Regions from separate parts of the Homo sapiens genome. Here region 2 is linked to region 1. The links are contacts of gene promoters, found by promoter capture Hi-C in blood cells and fetal thymus (Javierre and others, 2016). All regions are on one chromosome and are shown on one strand. The core of a region is centred on a gene start or on the middle of the fragment in contact, and the rest is flanking DNA. Distances in the headings are between cores, read along the strand shown. Region 1 holds the start of TYMS (thymidylate synthetase). Region 2 overlaps NDC80 (NDC80 kinetochore complex component).

Region 1 (5,061 bases), core at 1-2,500:
CTAGATGGGTCCGTGGGCCGGAGGGCTTTTCCGCTAGCTACAGTGAATCTGCTTCACCACGAATGGGTTTCCCCATTCAAAACCACCTCCACCCCTGTGTCAAGGCTGCGCTCCATTTATCTGAGCGGTCAAGGTCAGCCCCTGGCTCACACACCTTCGAGTCCCCTCCCCCGCGCAGCTGGCGCAGGATCCAGGACGGCAGGACGGTGTGGCCTTAGGGAGGGCCAACGGCTGCCTAACGTCCTGTGCCCACCCCGCCCCGCCCCACTGTCCCCTGAAAGCCTGGCGCCAATGACCCGCGAGACATTTTTTGCCTGGGGTGCTCCTGTCGGAAAGGAAAGAGGAAAGGACGACTAAGAACTTATACTCGAACTCCCGAATTTCTCTTTTCAAGGTTTAAGAGGAAAGCTGGTTCGTGGGGATTGGATGGGAGGCCACCAGGAAACCAAGTTCCCGCGCCAGCTTCAGTGCTCTCCTCTTCCCGCCGCCTTTGCCCCGCCCACATCACTTTCGCTCCAGTTTTTGAAAACGCTGCGAAGCGGAATGGTCCACAGGGGAAAACGGAGGAGGGGCCAAAGCCAGGACTTTGAGACCGGCGCGCGGTCAAGCCCAGGCAGCTCTCCCTAACCCTCCAGCACTGGGCAAACGCTGCCCGATGACGCCCGCCTCGGGGGCCACGGCATCACTGGGGCGACTGCGAGCCCGGCCGCGGAGCCGCTGGGACGCGGCTTACCTCCCGGCTGTCGCTGCTGTGTGTGTTGCCCGCGCCAGTCACGTCCCTAATGGGACCCTCCGTTTCGGCGTCTGTAAGGCGAGGAGGACGATGCGTCCCCTCCCTCGCAGGATTGAGGTTAGGACTAAACGGGGTCCGCAGCGCCCGGCAGCTCCCGAGCGCTCTCCCCAGCCGCGCCTCCCTCCTTCCCGCCACCCGTCCCGCAGGGGCCCGCGGCGTCACCTCTCAGGCTGTAGCGCGCCTGCATGCCGAATACCGACAGGGTGCCGGTGCCCGTGCGGTCGTCCTTCCTGACGCCGCAGCGGAGGATGTGTTGGATCTGCCCCAGGTACTGCAGCTCCCCGTGCGGCGGACGCGGCTCGGCGTCCCGCTCCTGTGCGGCGGGGGGCAAGGGCCGGCGCGGCAGCTCCGAGCCGGCCACAGGCATGGCGCGGCGGGCGGGGGACGGAGGCAGGCGAAGTGGCGCGGCGGGACGGAGGCAGGCCAAGTGGCGCGGCGGGACGGAGGCAGGCCAAGTGGCGCGGTGGCAGGACCCCTTCCGCGCGCCTTTTCCCGCGGCCGTCCCGCGCTCCGCCTCTTCCTGCTCGGCGGGGTCGCGGCGGCCCCCGCTCTAGAGAGCGTGCGCCAGGGGGAAACGCAGGAGCCACGGGTGTGGCACAGAACGGAGCCCAGGGCCACAGCTGAGAGTCTTAGGAAACCCGGGAACCTGGATGCAGGTGCGGTGGCTGGGAAGGACTGCGCCCTTTGGGAACCGTCTGGTCGACCGCGCCTTCTCTAAGCCAGCAGCACAGTTCCCACGTTTTCCTGCGGTCTTGTCAACAAAACTGCTGTTTGAGATCTGTTTCCTACAACTAATAAGGGATTTGCATTTCCATTTCTTCGTTCTCACTGAAGCAACCGAAGCAAGTGGTATAATGCAGCTTTTCTACTTGATTAAAAACCGCCAGGGCGCTGGACGCGGTGGCTCACGCCTGTAATCCTAGTACTTTGGGGGGCCGAGGCGGGTGGATCACCTGAGGTCAGGAGTTCAAGACCAGCCTGGACAACATGGTGAAACCCCCGTCTCTACTAAAAGTACAAAAATTAGCTGGGCGTGGTGGCTACTTGGGAGGCTGAGGCAGAAGAATTGCTTGAACCTGGGAGGCAGAGGTTGCAGTGAGCCAAGATCCGACCATTGTACTCCAGCCTGGGCGACAGAGCAAGACTGTCCCAAAAAAAAAAAAAAAAAAAAAAAAAAGACCGCCAGGGCTTTTCCGAGGTTTTTTGTTTGAGCCCTGGCGGTCTTTTTTTTTTTTTTTTGAGACAGAGTCTCGCTCTCTCACCCAGGCTGGAGTGCAATGGTGCGATCTCGGCTCACTGCAACCTCCGCCTCCTGGGTTCAAGCAATTCTGCTGCCTCAGCCTCTCGCGTAGCTGGGACTACAGGCGCCGCCACCACGCCCGGCTAATTTTTTTTTTTCATGTTTAGTAGAGACGGGGTTTCGCCATGTTAGCCAGGCTGGTCTCAAACTCCTGACCTCAGGTGATCCACCCACATTGGCCTCCCAAAGTGCTGGGATTACAGGCGTGAGCCACCGCACTCGGCCCCAAGTTTTTAATAGACCACATTTCCCAGTTTTACTGAATTGTTTATAACATTAACACTGGGGAGTGGGAACTGTTGATGAAAAGAGTTAAACTCTGTAAAATATCTGAAGAAATTTATTCTGAGCCAAATATGAGTGACCAATGGCCGGTGATAGAGCCCTCAGCAGATCCTGAGAACATGTCCCCAAGGTGGTTGGGCTACAACTTGATTTTTTATACATTTGGTTGAAAGAATTGTTATCTAAAGATCTGGAATCAATAGAGGGCTGGGCGCGGTGGCTCACGCCTGTAATCCCAGCACTTGGGAGGTCGAGGCGGGCAGATCACGAGGTCAGGAGATTGAGACCATCCTGGCCAACATAGTGAAACCCTCTCTACTGAAAATACAAAAATTAGTGGGGCGAGGTGGCACACGCCTGTAACCCCAGGTACTCAGGAGGCTGAGGTAGGAGAATCGCTTGAACCCAGGAGGCGGAGGTTGCTTGCAGTAGCTGAGAAAGCGCCACTGCACTCCAGTCTGGGTGACAGAGCCGTATGGGGAAAAAAAAAAAAAAGATTTGAATGAATAGAAAGGAATATCTGGGTTAAGATAAGGGGTTGTGGAGACCATGGATTCATCATGCAGATTAAACCTCCAGGTAGCAGGCTTTAGAGAGATAGATTGTAAATGTTTCTTGTCAGACTTAAAGAGTGTGTTCTACCTGTCTTGAGGCCTGTGTTGATGTCAATGCTGGTCAGCTGTGCCTAAATTCCAAACGGAGGAGGGAATAATGAGGCATGTCTGGCTCCCCTTCCCATCATGGCCTGAACTAGTTTTTGTGGTTAAATTTGGAATGCCTTTGACCCAGAGGAGTGGTCTTTTCAGATGGTTCTGGGCGTAGAATTTTATTTTTGGTTTACAGAACGATTTTATAATGAGTTTAAAATGCACTGATACATGTGTTGTACTTGCAAGCATCCTTTTACCTCAACGGTTGATTGAGTACAGAGGTGCTCTCAGCATTTTGGGTGGGACTTTTCTTAGCTGGACCGGTTTGTTCTGCACATTGCAGGGCTTTAGCAGGACTGTGGAAAGCCAACCATATGTTGGCATTCCCCCACCCCACACCAGCTGAAAACTGTCCCTACACGTTTCCCTACACGTTTCCGAGCACGAGGAAGATCCCAGGCTGAAAATATTCCAGATTATCCAGATGCACGTTATCTGTGTTTAATTTCCTTGTGTTATTCTTTTTCCTTTTTTTTTTTTTTTTTTTTTTTTGAGGTGGAATCTTGCTCTGTCCCTCAGGCTGCAGTGCAGTGGTGCTCAGCTCACTGCAAACTCCGCTGCATGGGTTCAAGCAATTCTGCCTCAGCCTCCCAAGTAGCTGGAACTATAGGCGCCTGCCACCATGCCCAGCTAATTTTTTTTTCTTTTTTTTTTTTTTTGCATTTTTAGGAGAGACAGGGTTTCACCATGTTGGTCAGGCTTGTCTCAGACTTCTGATCTGAAGTGATCTGCCCACCTCGGCCTCCCAAAGTGCTGGGATTAAAGGCGTGAGCCACCATGCCCAGCCTTACTTGTGTTATTTTTTAAAAACCTGATACATAATAATTGTGAGGTAGACAGGGCTTGACTCTGGAGGCAGGGCTCTGACATGGGACCAAATTGAGGAGTAGTCAAAACAAGGATGGGGCAGAAGTAGTTTTCCATAAGACGTGCCCACCAGTGTGCCATGTCAGTTTACGATTGTCATGGCAACATCCAGAGCTTACTGCCCCTTTCCATGGCAGTGAGCCGACAACCGGAAGTTACCACCCTTTTTCTAGACATTTCTGCATAATCTGCCCCTTAATTTGCATGTAATTGAAAGTAGGTTATAAATATCACTGCAGACCTGCCTTTAAGCTACTGCTGTCAGCACACTGCCTATAGGGTAGCTCTGCTCTACAGGGGCACTCAGGGAGCTGTTGCCATATCAGTAGAGCTTTTCTTCTACCAGGTAGCTCTTAAATTCTTTCCTGAGCAAAACCAAGAACCCTCCTGAGCTAAGCCCAATTCTGGGCTCACCTGCCCTGCATCAGTTGCACATCCTTGTGTGTTTTTTTTCTTTCTTTCTTTTTTTCTTTTCGACGGAGTCTCGCTCTGTCACCCAGGCTGGAGTGCAGTGGCAGAATCTCAGCTCACTGCAACCTCTGCCTCCCAGGCTCAAGCAATTCTCCTGCCTCAGCCTCCCGAGTAACTGGGATTACAGGCACCCATCACCATGCCCAGCTAGTTTTTGTATTTTTAGTAGAGATGGAGGTTCACCATGTTAGCCAGGCTGGTCTCGAACTCCTCACCTGAAGTAATCTGCCTGCCTCGAGCCTCCCAAAGTGCTGGGATACAGGCGTGAGCCACTGCACCCGGCCCCTTGTGTTATTTTGAGGCTGGTTTATTTGTTTCACCCAAATACCAGCTAAATCACATCTCAAGACTAGGCTCCTCTGCCCACATGGAGCTTCCACTTCTGCTGCCTTCCTTGAGTATCTTGGCTTGATAGTAAAGACAGAATGGTTCTTTTCAAAGTAGTTACTCCATAAATGTTGGTTAGAATGAATGGTTCTCTCAGACAAATTTCATTCATTCATTCATTAACACACATTTATATCATGGTGCCTTCCTCATGTCTACAAACAGCAAGACAGACAAGGCCCTTTTCTTCATAGAACTGATATTCTGGCAGTGACAAACACTACAAAAGTAACCAAACAAGACATCTG
Region 2 (5,061 bases), core at 1,722-4,221, 1.9 Mb before region 1:
ACCTGAGGTCAGGAGTTCGAAACCAGTCTGGCCAACATGGTGAAACCCTGTCTCTACTAAAAATACAAAATTAGCCAGGCGTGGTGGCACACATCTGTGGTCCCAGCTACTTGGGAGGCTGAGGCAGGAAAATCGCTTGAACCCAGGAGACAGAAGTTGCAGTGAACTGAGATCGTGCCATTGCACTCCAGGCTGGGTGACAGAGTAAGAGTCTGACTCAAAAAAAAAAAAAAAAGACACACACACACACACACACACACACACACACACACACACACCAGAGTTTATTCATATTTTACTGACATTTTCAGTGATAACCATACCAAACTGGTCAGGTTTTTGCTTTCTCTGTTTACCAATAGTGTTTTCCAACCTTCTGTGACTCATGGCCTATATTGAACATGATTAGCATTTTTATAGCAGGCTGGGACAAAAGGATGAGGATGACTAAGGGGTCAAGAGAGTCATCCTAAGGGTGGAGAGGATTGGTATTTTGGTATCTTGGTTTGTTACAACCTATTTGCAACACAGTGAACTTAAAGCAAATTCATGGTTAGATAAAGTAAAACTTTATGCATTTATCACAGGCATCTGCACAAAAAATCCACAACATATAATATCTATAAAATTTATGGCTGGGTGTGGTGGCTCATGCCTGTAACCCCAGCACTTTGGGAGGCTGAGGCGGGTGGATCACCTGAGGTCAGGAGTTTGAGACCAGCTTGGCCAACATATAGTGAAACCCTGTCTCTACTAAAAAAAATGAAAATTAGCTGGGCATGATGGTGCACTCCTGTAGTCCCAGCTACTTGGGAAACTGAGGGAGGAGACTTGCTTGAACCCCGGAGGCGAGGGTTGCAGTGAGCCAAGATTGAGCCACTCTACTCCAGCCTGGGCGACAGAGTGACACTCTGTCTCTCAAAAAAAAAAAAACAAAATAAAACAAAAACAAAATAAAATTTAAATATGTCTCATCCACTCATGCCATGAATGGCTTTACATAATCAAGAAAGTTCAAACACTCATAGAATAAAAACATCTTAGATTAACAGTTATAAAATTAATGTCTCAAACTAAATCACTCTGGAATGGCAAATGATTAAGTATTTCTCTCTCACCTACTGAGTTTGCAGCTATCAGAAAAAGTTCTCACAAGAACAAGAAGGATGTATGACAATTCTCTTGATCATATGCTGACAAGAAAGATAAAGTATTAGTATTAGAAAGTATTGATTAAAGGCCGGGTGCTGTGGCTCACGCCTGCAATCCCAGCACTTTGGGAGGCCGAGGTAGGTGGATCACGAGGTCAGGAGTTTGAGACCAGCCTGGCCAGCATGGTGAAACCCCGTCTCTACTAAAAATACAAAAAAGTAGCCGGGCATGGTGGCGTGCACCTGTAATCCCAGCTACTCAGGAGGCTGAGGCAGAAGAATTATTTGAACCCGGGAGGCGGAGGTTGCAGTGAGCGGAGATGGTGCCACTGCACTTCAGCCTGGGTGACACAGCAAGACTACATCTCAAAAAAAAAAAAAAAAAGTATTGATTAATTGCATTATAAAAATTATTATAATAATAATTTAGTCCAAGCTTCTTTGTCATCATGAAGAATAAACAAAGGACATTGATTAGGGGCCAAGTGTAAAGTAGTTAATATATTTAAAGAGTTGGTTTAGAGCAAATCCAATATATATATATAAATCAGAGTTATTTGGAAAAAAAAAACAGATTCAGCAAATAACCCTGGTAATTACTAGTCTTGAGTTGACAATCAATACTCCATAGACTAAGAGTTAAATCAAATATCCTAAGGGCCATGTATACAACTCCCATGTGGGACAGACACAGCCAGCAAAATCCCAAAAGAAACAAACAGAAGTAGGCAAAGTCCTGGGAAAACAGTATAGTTGTCAATAAATTTATTTTTAAAAGTACAGCCCAGTGGCTCTGTGACTTGCAGATACCTTTCTTTACTCTCCTTCAGGCACTGCAGAAGAATCAAGCAATTGCATGTGCCATAGTGTTTTACAGAATTTTATGATTAAGATTGCTGTGTTTATGAAAGTAAGCTTACAAGACATAAGACATAAAAGAGCTTTCTTTGGTTGCTCTTTTCCCCGAGAACTGTAGTACTTGCAGCTTTAATTTTGATTTTCAATCAGTTTCAGCTGCTGAGGTGCTTAGGCGGTAGTGATGGAGGATAGCCAGTTATAGCAGACTGAGGCAGGCAGACATCAAGAATCTGGCTTATTAGAGCCAAGCATGGTGGAGCCCACCTATTATAGTCCCAGCTACGTGGGAGACTGAAGTGGGAGGATTATTTGAACCCAGGAGTTCGAGACTGGCCTGGGCAAAATAGCAAGACTTCATCTCAAAAAAAACAAAAGAATCTGGTTTATCTGGCTTATTAACCACAAAGTGGAATACAGTATATATTTGTATAGAATTTTTATATATTTCTATATTCAGGCAGCATGTTTTCTTAGGTTGGGTCCTTCTTGGCTTCAAAAAGCCAAATGCTTGAAAACATGTAAGGAGTAGTAGGTTGAACAATGGCCACCTAAATATATAAAGTTCTATCTCTGGAAACTGTGAAATTACCTTATTTGGGAAAAGGGTCTTTGCAGATGTGATTAAGTATCTTGAGATGAAGAGAGAGCCCTGTATTATTATCCAGGTGGGCCCTAAATCTCATCTCAAATGTCCTTATAAGATAGAGGCAGAGGGAGATATTTCACACAGGTAGTAGAGTACAAACACAGAGGAGAAGGCAATGTGAAGATGGAGGCAGAGATCGGAGTGATGTGAACATAGCCCAGTAATGCTGCCAGCCACTAAAAGCTGCAAGAGGCAAGGAATAGATCCTCCCTGAGTCCTTGGAGGGATGCAGATCTGCTGGAACAGCCTCTAGAACTGTGCGATAATACATTTCTGTTGTTTTAAGCCATCCAAACTTGTGATCATTTGTGACAGCAGCCTTAGGAAACAAATACGAAACACACTGAAAACTTGGTAGCCTGCTCTAAGCATGTACCACAGAACAACAAAAGATATGGATAACAAAGCTGTTTTTACATGTGACAAATCCCACACAGGTTCGCATCCCAGTCTTTTAGCATTAGCTCTGCTTACCTACTCTAGCAATTTCCTCATTGAGACCATTTAATTTCTGGTCAAGAATGGCTGAATGAGACTCCAAATTGCTCATGTATGCCTGATACTTTTGAACATCTCCTTGTAAGGAAGCCTTCAGTTTTCTCAACGACTCTAGACGATTCTTTAAGAGAAAAGAATATAACTTTAGTTATTCTTAATAACCATTCCATATTTTATTTTAAAGTAAAGCAATATTATTTAAATTTATTTTAGAGAAAGGTAGATTTGAGTTTTCCTTTCATTTTTAGAGGAAGTCAAAAGAACTAAAAGGGGACTACACTGTCAGTTTGAAATAGAAAAAAAAAAAAACCACAATTGCTAGGGTTGAAAAAGCACAAATATTTAAAATCTGGTATTTTACAACAACAGTTTGAGTGCTTCACTAATAATGCAGAAAATAAAGTTAGATAACTGGATATTAATATTTAGCTTTTAGAAAACTCAGGATACAATATACTATATAAACCCATTTATTAACCATTCCTTTTGCACTACCTCCAAAACTCAGGGCTTCTTGTGACTAATGCTCCCTAGAGGTATATAACACAGGGCCTTTGTTCAAAAGTACTTTTGATCTTATGTAAGTAGGTAAGAATCTTTCATCATATCCAGAGCACCATTAGTCTAAGACTGATAGACCGCAAGGGAAAACAAGGCTCCACAGATACCAAACATGTTTTCATTGGGAGTTTCTAGGTGAAAATTTAACTTTTAAGAAGCTTAATTTGTTAATCTATTTTTTAAAATTTTGATAAAGACAGCTAATATCCAAGGACACCCAAAAGTCTAAAAGAGCTCTCAAGTAAGTGTGTAAACATGTTTACTAACCGGTTCTTTTTCTCTTTCTTGTTCCAATCTTGCAATCTGTTCATTCAATGCTCTGTTTTTTGCTTCTAATGATTCCAGCTTAAAAGCATCCACATTAAATAAATCCTCTGGAGACAAAATCCAAAAGCTTTTTAAGACCTCAAATCCGCCTAGAACATTCTTTCCCAAGTTTTCACCATTACTCCCTCCCTCACTTCCTTCTGGTCTCTGCCCAAAACACTATTAGTGAAGTACATCCCATCCTTGTAAAACAGCAAACCCTTTCCATTACTCCACCGTACTTCGACTCTCCTTGTCCTGCTTGATTTTTCTCCAAAGCGCTTATCACCATTTGACTTAAAGTTGCTCATTTCATTATTTTCCTCTTTCTGTCTACTAAAATGTAAGCTCATAAGGGCAGAGGTTTTTATCCTATTCATTACTGTATCCTCAGTGCCTAAATGGTGGCTGGCACATAGTAGGTATACAAAAAATATTTATTTGAATAAATGAATGCAGTTTTTATGCTTGGTTAATTATATACAGAAATATCAAATTACTCATTAGATGCTTAGATCACTCTAAATTTTCCTCTCTTAAAACAAAGCCATTTATTTTGCTCCCTTTCCCATGTGAACAAGCTGAAATTGTCCTGGTTACTCTTCAGGAAGATACAATCCCAGGGGACTATAAGGGAATGCTTTCAGCTTTTGTGATAATACTGGCAAAGTGATTGATTCCATTGTTGGAGGAATAGCTTCACCTCCATTTATCTATTTTACCTTCCATTTTGGCATTTTATATACAAGACTATTTCAATAGAAAGAATGAAAATGTAAAATAATACCTCTGGAATGTTTTAGAGTTATCTAGTAAATACTGTATGTCACTAGGTTGTAAATGAGTAAAAAAAAAAAAAGATTTTCCTTACATATTTGGAAGTATAATGTCTTGTTAACTTTTTGCCACAAATTTTGAAAGAGACCTTAGGTCTTTTGACTAATTGGTGCTTTAATTTCTCAAATAGTAAGCAAGGACAACGTAGGGATATTATCCCCCAAGAGGAATAGCATTTGCTAATTATTGTCTATGCTTCTGGTA

Evidence for each region. The method cuts DNA at HindIII sites, captures the fragments that hold promoters and counts their contacts. A CHiCAGO score of 5 or more calls a contact.
Region 2: a fragment that was not itself captured here is called in contact with the fragment with the promoter of TYMS in region 1 in 1 of 17 cell types (fetal thymus); the score reaches 5.3 in fetal thymus.

What each region holds. Positions count from the first base shown.
Region 1 is chr18:653,842-658,902 of GRCh38, reverse strand. TYMS (thymidylate synthetase) reads right to left here and starts at 1,250. Exons shown (of 7, transcript NM_001071.4): 1 at 956-1,250. The coding sequence starts at 1,160. TYMSOS (TYMS opposite strand RNA) reads left to right here and starts at 612. Exons shown (of 2, transcript NR_171001.1): 1 at 612-1,061. RefSeq lists enhancers at 538-657, 525-1,024, 1,025-1,526 and silencers at 888-937, 1,108-1,287. The HindIII fragment of the contact is 8,200 bases long and covers 1-5,061 here.
Region 2 is chr18:2,588,231-2,593,291 of GRCh38, reverse strand. It overlaps NDC80 (NDC80 kinetochore complex component), which reads right to left. Exons shown (of 17, transcript NM_006101.3): 9 at 3,982-4,088; 10 at 3,130-3,274. Among named protein-coding and RNA genes, the nearest start is that of NDC80, 19 kb to the right of the region's middle. RefSeq lists an enhancer at 2,959-4,158. The HindIII fragment of the contact is 1,806 bases long and covers 2,069-3,874 here.